Linked DNA regions of Homo sapiens: region 1 is linked to region 2. Evidence: promoter capture Hi-C in 16 types of primary human blood cells and fetal thymus (Javierre and others, 2016). All regions are on one chromosome and are shown on one strand. Each heading gives the region's core, a stretch centred on a gene start or on the middle of the fragment in contact. The rest is flanking DNA. Distances are from core to core; before and after follow the strand shown.

Region 1 (4,831 bases), core at 1,588-4,087, 540 kb before region 2:
CTGAGTCAAGTGGATCCAGGGTCTTTTGGGTCCCTCCCCTTATTATGGGAATATATGGATTCATCTTTCACTTTGTTTTTTAATTTTTATTTGTATTTGCATTTATTTATTTATTTAAAGACAGAGTCTTGTTCTGTCGCCTGTAAGGAGTGCAATGGCACAATCTCGGCTCACTGCAACCTCTGCCTCCTGGGTTCAAGCGATCCTCCCATCTCAGCCTCCCGAGTAGCTGGGATTACAGGCGCAGACCACCATGCCCGGCCAATTTTTGTATTTTTGGTAGAGACAGGGTTTCGTCATGTTGCCCAGGCTGGTCTCAAACTCCTGACCTCTAGTGATCTGCCTGCCTCGGCCTCCCAAAGTGCTCAGATTACAGGTGTGAGCCACCATGCCCAGTCCCACCTTGTTTTTTAAAATATTTATTTATTTATTATTATTTTTTAAAGAGATAAAATCTGACCGGGCACAGTGGCTCATGCCTGCAATCCCATGGTGGCAGGCAACTGTAATCCCAGCTACTCGGGAGGTTGAGGCAGGGGAATCGCCTGAACCCGGGAGGTGGAAGCTGCAGTCAACTGAGATCGCACCACTGCACTCCAGCCTGGGAGACAGAGCGAGACTCCGTCTCAAAAAAAAAAAAAAAAGAGAGAGAGAGAGAGATAAGATTTTTTTTGTGTGTGACAGAGTCTCACTCTGTCACTCAGGCTGGAGTAGAGTGGTGCGATCTCGGGTCACTGCAACCTCTGCCTCCTGGGTTCAAGCCATTCTCTTGCCTCAGCCTCCCGAGTAGCTGGGACTACAGGCACATGCCATCACGCCTGGCTTACTTTGTACTTTTAGTGGAGATGGGGTTTCACCGTGTTAGCCAGGATGGTCTCGATCTCCTGACCTCATGATCCACCTGCCTTGGCCTCCCAAAGTGTTGGGATTACAGGTGTGAGCCACTGAGACCAGCTGAGAGATAAGATCTTACTTTCACCCAGGCTGGAGTGCAGTGGCATGATCGTAATTCACTGCAATCTTGAACTCCCGAACTCAAGTGATTCTTTTCTCCTGCCCCAGCCTCGTGAGTAGCTGGGACTATAGGCACAGGCCACCAGGCCCAGCTATTTTTTTTCATCTTTTGTAGAGATGGGAGTCTCTCTATGTATCCCAGGCTGGTCTCAAACTCCTGGCTTCAAGTGATTTTCCTGCCTCAGCCTCCTTAAAGTGCTGGGATTACAGGTGTGAGCCACTGCATCCAGCCTCATCCTTCACCTTGATTTCTGGGTCATGATCTCTGTTTGACCCGAAGTTTTCCAATTCCAGATAAGAGTTAAGTAGTCAGCTTGTACTCTGAAGCCAGAATAGCATTGATATTTATCTCACATTGAGTTTGAGTTTATCAGTCTTGAAAACAAGAATTTAAGTAATAGGTTATGTCACTTGCACAAGGACCCACACACCTGTCATGTGACAGAGAAGGAGTAGTTATGTTGCCTAATAAAACATACAATAAGTATGCTTGTGACTTATACATTTTAGAGATAAGGATGTTTTCTTTCCCTATCTGTCATATCTGCCTTGGAGATGCGCACAGGACAGATAGCAGAAGACAAAGTGTCTTCCTGTCTTTTGAGAAAGCCTGAGCTCATAGAAGATTCCATTCTGAGTGTCCACAAGGAGAAGAGGAGAGGGGACTTTTAGGGAAACCAAGTTAGCAGGGAAGTCTCCCAGGTAGAGAAAGGGAAGGGAGGCTGCAGGCCATGGAGCAGAGGAAGCAGGTGTCTGTCCCTGGCAGCCCCAGGGAGAGGCAGGGGCCTCAGGCAGGGATGGCCTCATAGAGCCCAAACCTGAAAATCTTTGTGGACTGGAGCAATGGTTGTGGCCTCAGTACCAGACAAAACCCTGACCAGAGAGTTTTTTGCTTATTTGTTTTTGATTGTTGTTTTTTGCTATAGGAAAACATGAGTCCTTTGGAATTACCTAGCTAAAAGGAGTACAGTGGAGACTGAGACTGAATTTCCCGGCCGGGCAGGGGCTCACGCCTGTAATCCTAGCACTTTTGGAGGCTGAGGTGGGCGGGTCGCTTGAGTTCAGGAGTTCGAAACCAGCCTGGGCAACATGGCAAAACCACGCCTCTACAAAAAAATGCGAAAATTAGTCGGGCGTGGTGGTGTTCGCCTGTAGTCCTAGCTACTCTGGAGGCTGAGGCGGGAGGATCGCCTGAGCCCAGGAGTTCGAGGCTGCAGAGAGCCGTGATCGTGCCACTGCACTCCAGCCTGGGTAACAGAGACCAGTTTAAAAAATAGAAAAAGACTGAATTTCCCATCAGCCTGGAAGATTGGGGCTTGATTTTTGCTTGATTTAAAGGCAATAAATAAATGAGATATTTTGTGCTGCTTATTTTAAGCTCTTACGCTTCTCGCTTTATATTCTGGGGTACCTGCATTTTTAGTGGTGTAATTTATTTGTCTAGATCTGTTTGCCTCTTAACCTGTAAGCTCCCGGAAGGGTCGGGATATCATGGATGTTCCAGCACATACGCTCATTGAAGTGTGCAGGTTGACTGGGGTTGGGGGAGGTCTCTTCTTGAGAGCGGTGGTCTCAGGATAGAAACTGGAAGGGGGCGCTTTTGAGATGTTAGGATTTCGGGGAGACAAGCTGTGACTCGGGAGTAGGGAAAAGCGGATTTTCTAGACGAAAGGTTAGGAAGAATCTGGGAATGGGCCGACTGGGGCACCAAGAGGGTCCCTGGCAAGCCCCGCCCTGGCCGGGGGACCGGCGCGGAGTGACGCAGCGCGGTTTGGCCGCTGTGGGGCGCCGTAGCCCGCGCCGTTGTCAGGGGAACGGGCCCAGCGCCGGACGAGGCCCAGCCAGTCTGGGTCTGGCCTGGCCGCCCCTCCAGCCTGCTGGAGCCGGAGCCGGAGCCGGAGCCGGAGCCGGAGCCGGAGCCAGAGCCAGAGCTCGAGGACTCACCGGCCCAGTCTCCGTCCGGGATGGGGCCCCGCTCCCGGGCGCGTTGCCGCCCAGTCCCGGGGACCGTCCCTACCGCGAGGGTCTGAGGCGCGGCTGCCCCGGGGAGGGTGGAAGGCCAGGCGTGGGGCCCGAACCTCTGGCTGACTTTGGCAGGGCCCATCTGGCACGGCCTCCGCGGCGCGCAGGTGAGGAGTCCCCGCCCGGTTTCTCACCTCGGAGCCTGGCTTGAGCCACGGGGTAGCGGATGCTGCCGCCTGGCCGGCTTTGGGCTCGCTTCCGCCTGGAGCCGGTGGCCTGAGTTCCAGGGCCCCGGCAGAGCGCGGGGCTTCCTTTTAGCATGCATCAAGTTCACAGATCTTCCTTGAGCGCTTACTCTTTGCCAGGCTCTGTGCCAGGCGTGGGCACAGAGGACTCCCAACAGACGTGGTCTGTCTCCAGAACCCAGAGCATTAAGGAAGGGGGCTGGGAAGCGGATGTCATACATGACTAAAGTGATTTCAGGTCGGGTTAGGCTCTCTGGTATTGAAATGGAGGGGTTGGTCATGGAGGGTCTGTTTTAAAAGGAAACCATGGGAAGAGTTTTAGTTTTTTCTTTGAGACGGAGTTTCGCTCTTGTCACCCAGGCTGGATGGAGCGCAGTGGCACGACTCGGGTCATTGCAACCTCCGCCTCCCGGGTTCAAGCCATTCTGCTGCCTCAGCCTCTGGAGTAGCTGGGATTACAGGCGCCCGCCGCCACGCCCGGCTAAGTTTTATATTTTTAGTAGGGACGGGGTTTCACCATGTTGGCCAGGCTGTTCTCGAACTCCTGACCTCAGGTGATCCACCCGCCTCGGCCTCCGAAAGCGTTGGGATTACAGGTGTGAGCCACCGTTCCCAGCCAATTTTTTATTTTTTTGAGACAAGGTCTCCCTTTGTCACCCAGGCTGGAGTGCTGTGGTGTGAACATGGGTCACCGCAGGCTCCGGCTCCCGGGCTCAAGCGATCCTCCCGCCTCAGCCTCCCAAGTAGCTGAGACTACAGATACCCGCCACCACGCTCAGCTAATTTTTTAAGGTTTTGGTAGAGATGAGGTCTTACTATTTTGCCCAGGCTGGTCTCGAGCTCCTGGTCTCAAGGGATCCTCTTGCCTCAGCCTCCCAAAGTGCTGGGATTACAGGTGTGAGCCACTGCAAGCGGCAGAAGAGTTTTTTATTTTTTGTTTATTTTTATTTTTATTTTCCAGATGGAGTCTCGCTCTGTCACCCAGGCTGGACTGCAATGGCACAATCTCGGCTCACTGCAACCTCCACCTCCCGGGTTCAAGCGATTCTCCTGCCTCAGCCCCCCAAGTCTGGGATTACAGGCGCCTGCCACCACACCCAGCTAATTTTTGTATTTTTAGTAGAAACGGGGTTTCAACATGTTGGCCAGGCTGGTCTTGAACTCCTGACCTCAGGTGATCCAGCCACCTTGGCCTCCCAAAGAAGAGTTTGGATGAGTTTCACGTTTGAAAAGCTCACTTCACTCTGGCTGCTGAGCAGCATGGTTGTGACAGACATACCGGGAAGTCAGTTGAGGGCCATCCTAGTTCTGCCAATCTAGCTGTGCCTCCTAAAATAACTCATTTAGTGTCTCTGAGCCTCAGTGTCCTCATGATGGGAGTGGGTGTTCTGTATGTTTTTTATGAGGAAGTGAGAGGCCAGTCACATCTGAAATCAGTGACTACAGGGATCTACAAGAACAGTTGGAAATGATAGGACCTTCCTTAGAGCTCTATGAGGATTGAATGAGTGAATTCCACTGAAACAGTGCCTGGCACAGAATAAGTGCATTCTAAATGCTGGTGTTGGTTATTATCATGCAAACACTGTAGGAGAGCGATGCTGGAGGTT
Region 2 (4,613 bases), core at 1,577-4,076:
CTAACACAGTGAAACCCCGTCTCTACTAAAAATACAAAAATTTAGCTGGGTGCAGTGATGGGCGCCTGTAGTCCCAGCTACTCAGGAGGCTGAGGCAGGAGAATGGCGTGAACCCAGGAGGCAGAGTTTGCAGTGAGCCAAGATTGCACCACTGCACTCCAGCCTGGGCGAGAGCGAAACTCCGTCTCAAAAATAAATAAATAAATAAATAATCTGCTTCGGGCATAGTGGCTCATACCTGTAACCACTCCAAAGGCTGAGGCGGGAGGATCACTTGAGCCTAGGAGTTCCAAGACCAGCCTGGGCAACATAAGGAGACCTGGTTTCTACAAAAAATTTTTTTACAAATTAGTTGGGCATGGTGGCGCACACCTATAGCCCCATTCACTTGTAAGGCTGAGGTGAGAGGATTGCTTAAGCCCTGGAGGTCAAGACTGCAATGAGCTGTGCTCCTGCCACTGCACTCCAGCCTGGGCAACAGAGCAAGACCCTGTCTCAAAAACTAAATTTTATATACATGTATATTTCCCCACTAGTCTATAAACTCCATGACTCAAGCAACTATGGCTGCCTTACTCACCAACAGCTTTCCAGTGCCTGGCCCTGTACCCGGCACACACTAAGTCCTCAAATACTGGCTAAATATGACATTTTCAGAGGCCCAATAGCACACTAGCTGTGATACTATCTTGTGTAGCATCAGACACACTGCTGATGAGGTAACACTCCAGTTATCTATTGGTGGAATGGGAATATTAGTCTTAGAAGGTTTTGTGAGAATTTAATAAAATATGACGCTTCTGCTAAAAAAAAAAAAGTAGCTATTATTTTCATCATTAGGTATATACCCCTCTAAGTCATTCTGGGTATTTTTTGTTTGGTTTTTTTTTGTTTTGTTTTGTTTTTGAGATGGAGCCTGGCTCTGTCCCCAGGCTAGAGTGCAATGGTAAGATCGTGGCTCACTGCAGCCTTGCCCTTCTGGCCTCAAGGGATCCTCCTGCCTCAGCCTCCTACATAGCTGGGACTACAGGCATGTGCCGCCAGGCCCAGCTAATAGACAGGGTCTCCCCGTGTTTTCCAGGCTGGTCTCAAACTCCTAGGCTCAAGCGATCTTCCGCCCTTGGCCTCCCAAAGTGCTGAGATTACAGGTGGGAGCTACTGCGCACAGTCATTCTGTACGTATTTTTGTAGAGTTGTAACCCCAACTTTGAATCTGGCTTTCCTGATAAGAGTATTTTTTCACATCTGATGGCTACATTTTGACATAAATAATCACAACTTACTTAACTATTCTTTACGGCTGGAAATTTAGAGGTTGTTTCTACTACTTGCTATTTATTAATATAAAATACCAAACTGGACTGGGCACAGTGGCTCATGCCTATAATCTCAGCATTTTGGGAGGCCAAGGCAAGAGGATCACTTGAGGCTAGGGAGTTTAAGACCACCCTGGGTGATACAGCAAGTGCCCCATCTCTACAAAAATTTTTAGATTAGCTGGGCATGGTGGTAAGTGCCTGTAGTCCCAGCTACTCAAGAGGCTGAGGTGGGAGGATCGCTTGAGCCCAAGATTTCAAGACTGCAGTGAGCTATGATCACACCACTGCACTCCAGCCTGGGCGACAGAGCCAGATCTGTCTCTTTAAAAACAACAACAACAACAAAACCCCACCAAACTGTACTGCTTTATGCAGTAACCTTTTCTCTACTTAGGTTTTATCCTAGTTATTTCCCAAACAAGGAGTCAGTAGGTCCAAGGGTGTAGACTCATTGCCAAACTGATTTCCAAAAGCTTCACATCTGCCTCCTCAAGGGGGTGACGAGTTTCCTAGTCCCTTCACTAGCCCTGGTGGTACTTTTCCTTGGAATATAATAAATTAAATTAAATTAAATTAAATTAAATTAAATTAAAAAAAAAAAAACAGAACAAAACCTTGACCCATTATAATGAGCTTTTCATGTATGAATCCTGCCCTCGGGATCTCGAGATCATTTGTCGGGACCTCAAGAGTTCCCAGGACTGAGGACCGTCCCTTCACTCCCCCACCCCCTGCCAGCCCACCCCGCAGAAGTCGGTGCGGGGGCGGTCTGTCCGGGAGCAGAGGGCGCCTGACGCTCCGGCCCTGCAGTCAAGGCAGGCAGCGGTGCAGGGTGATACACCGCAGCCAGGACGCAAACCCTCTTGCATCCTTAAAGAAAACAGACAGGTCCCAAGTTCAAATCTCTGACTTCAGCCTCATCGCTAAGTGCATGGACTCCGGAGCCCACCAAAACCGATCTCCCTAGAACCCCGGCACGGCCGTACCCCAGCTGGGTGCCCCCGGGCGACCCGCTTGGTGCCTCTGAGCCCCGGCTTGCCAGCCTGTAAAACAGGGGCGTGCAGTCGGGACACAGAGCTCCAAGGGGTGCTCGATAGGCCAGAGCAGCTAGTGGGGTGCCCCGGTAGGCAGCCAAGGGTCCTCGGCGAGCCCGCGGGCCCACGTGGCGCGCGCACGTGAGTGGGGTGACCGTGGTCGTAGGCCCAGCTGGTCCCTCTCCGCCGCGGACCCGCCCCCTCACCTCAGCTCTCCCTCCGCCCAGTCACCTGAGCCGGTGCCGCAGGCCGGGAGGGTCAGGCGCCGGCGAGGCCTGGCGGGGAAAGAGGTGTCCACATCCCCCGCTCGTTACCTTCCCTACCTCGGACCCTCGCCCGCTTCTCACCAGCTGGCGAGGCCACAGCCGCCCGCTCCGTCCGGTCAGTTCAGCGCCTGCGCACAGTGCCACAACTGCGGCCACCAGGTCCTCACCTCACCCAGGCGGTCCCTAGTCAGGACCCAGCTCCAGAAGGAAGCGCCCTCCCGCCAGCCCTGGTTGGCTCAATTGCGGAGGCGGGCCCTTGATGGACAGAGGTATTGCCCAATGGCTAAAGAGGATGAGAGGCGGGCAGAAAGGCGGGACCCGGGAGGGGGCAACACCGCCCCTTACCCCCTGCCTGGGTGCTGAAAGTGTTCGAGCGCGGGGCCACAGGACCAGGCAGTCACGTGCCTGAGATCGCCAGCTACGTGGCCGCTACACTCTGCATACCCCGAACCCAGCGGCCTCCCCAATTCCTCACCGTTGTTAGAACACCTCACTGCTTCCTCTCCACTTCGGTGTCGACCACTCCAGAACCCTCTCTTGAGCGCCACACCCTGATGTCCAGCCACCTGGACACCTGCCTCTGGAGGCCCCCAGGCGCCTCAAACATAACTTACCCCAAACTCAGCTTTCTGCCAAACTTGCTTTTTCTCTTCTCTCCTAACCCAGTAATGGCCCCACCATCTGCCCAGAGACCCAAGCCAAAACCCTGGGAGGCATCTTGACTCCTTCCTCTCCCTCACCCTCTCTTTCCAGTTATCTAATGCTGTAAATCCTATCTCCTAAATCTCTCTCCACTCATCCATCCGGCGACGCAGCCACCCTATTCCAAGCCTCTCACTTGATTTTACGGTTTTCCCTCCTCCACCTTTGACTTGGTCCTAACCACAGAGCAGAGCAGCCAGAATGACGCCCCTCCCACCTTTTCTCGTGGTTGGTGGGTAGAGACAAGGTCTTTCTATGTTGCCCAGGCTGGTCTCAAACTGCCGGGCTCAAGCAATCCTCCCACCTCAGCCTCCCCAAAGTGCTGGGATTACAGACGTGAGCCATCACGCCTGGCAGAATGACACTTCTAAAACTCAAATTCCAAGGCCGAGTGCGGTGGCTCCTGCCTGTAATCCCAGCACTTTGGGAGGCCGAGGCGGGGGGATCTCCTGAGGTCAGGAGTTTGAGACCAGCCTGGCCAACATCACGAAACCGTCTCTACTAAAAATACAAAAATTAGCTGGGAGTGGTGGTGCGCGCCTGTAGTCCCAGCTACCTGGGAGGCTGAGGCATGAGAATCATTTGAACCAGGGAGGTGGAAGTTGCACTGAGGTGAGATCATGCCACTGCACGCCAGCCTGGGAGACAGAGTGAGAGTCTGTCTCAAAAAAAACAAAAACAGAAACAAAAACAAACCAAAAAAACCCTCAAATTCCTGCCCTAAAGTCTTTTTTTTTTTTTTTTTTTTTTTTTTTTGAGACGGAGTCTCGCTCTGTCGCCCAGGCTGGAGTGCAGTGGCGGGATCTCGGCTCACTGCAAGCTCCGCCTCCCGGGTTCACGCCATTCCCCTGCCTCAGCCTCCCAAGTAGCTGGGACTACAGGCGCCCGCCACTACGCCCGGCTAATTTTTTGTATTTTTAGTAGAGACGGGGTTTCACCGTTTTAGCCGGGATGGTCTCGATCTCCTGACCTCGTGATCCGCCCGCCTCCGCCTCCCAAAGTGCTGGGATTACAGGCGTGAGCCACCGCGCCCGGCCTCCTGCCCTAAAGTCTTTAGTGGTTTCCCACAAACCATTAAGCTTTGAACTGACCATTATATTGGCCTGCTACTGACAATTAACTCAGCACGGCTGGCGGCTGGTAGGTTGAGAGAGACAGCGAACCCCGACACCAGATAATCCCTCCGTCCCTTCTGGTCCTAACATTGTGGCATTCCAGTGATGACCTGCTTCCTTATAAATTATTTTCACAGAACTCTTGTAACTATGGTAAGTCAGATGGAGTCCTTCCCT

Evidence for each region. The method cuts DNA at HindIII sites, captures the fragments that hold promoters and counts their contacts. A CHiCAGO score of 5 or more calls a contact.
Region 1: a contact is called between the fragment with the promoter of ZDHHC1 here and the fragment with the promoter of PDP2 in region 2, in 6 of 17 cell types (naive B cells, activated CD4 T cells, M0 macrophages and 3 more). The highest score is 10.8, in naive B cells.

What each region holds. Positions count from the first base shown.
Region 1 is chr16:67,414,483-67,419,313 of GRCh38, reverse strand. It overlaps ZDHHC1 (zDHHC palmitoyltransferase 1), which reads left to right and starts at 2,837. Exons shown (of 12, transcript NM_001323627.2): 1 at 2,837-3,143. LOC124903702 (a long non-coding RNA gene) reads right to left here and starts at 3,411. Exons shown (of 2, transcript XR_007065093.1): 1 at 3,171-3,411. RefSeq lists an enhancer at 2,291-2,948 and a silencer at 2,781-3,170. The HindIII fragment of the contact is 9,596 bases long and covers 1-4,831 here.
Region 2 is chr16:66,878,728-66,883,340 of GRCh38, reverse strand. It overlaps PDP2 (pyruvate dehydrogenase phosphatase catalytic subunit 2), which reads right to left and starts at 2,826. Exons shown (of 2, transcript NM_020786.4): 1 at 2,701-2,826. RefSeq lists a silencer at 2,373-2,552 and enhancers at 2,012-2,784, 3,033-3,112. The HindIII fragment of the contact is 2,608 bases long and covers 1,795-4,402 here.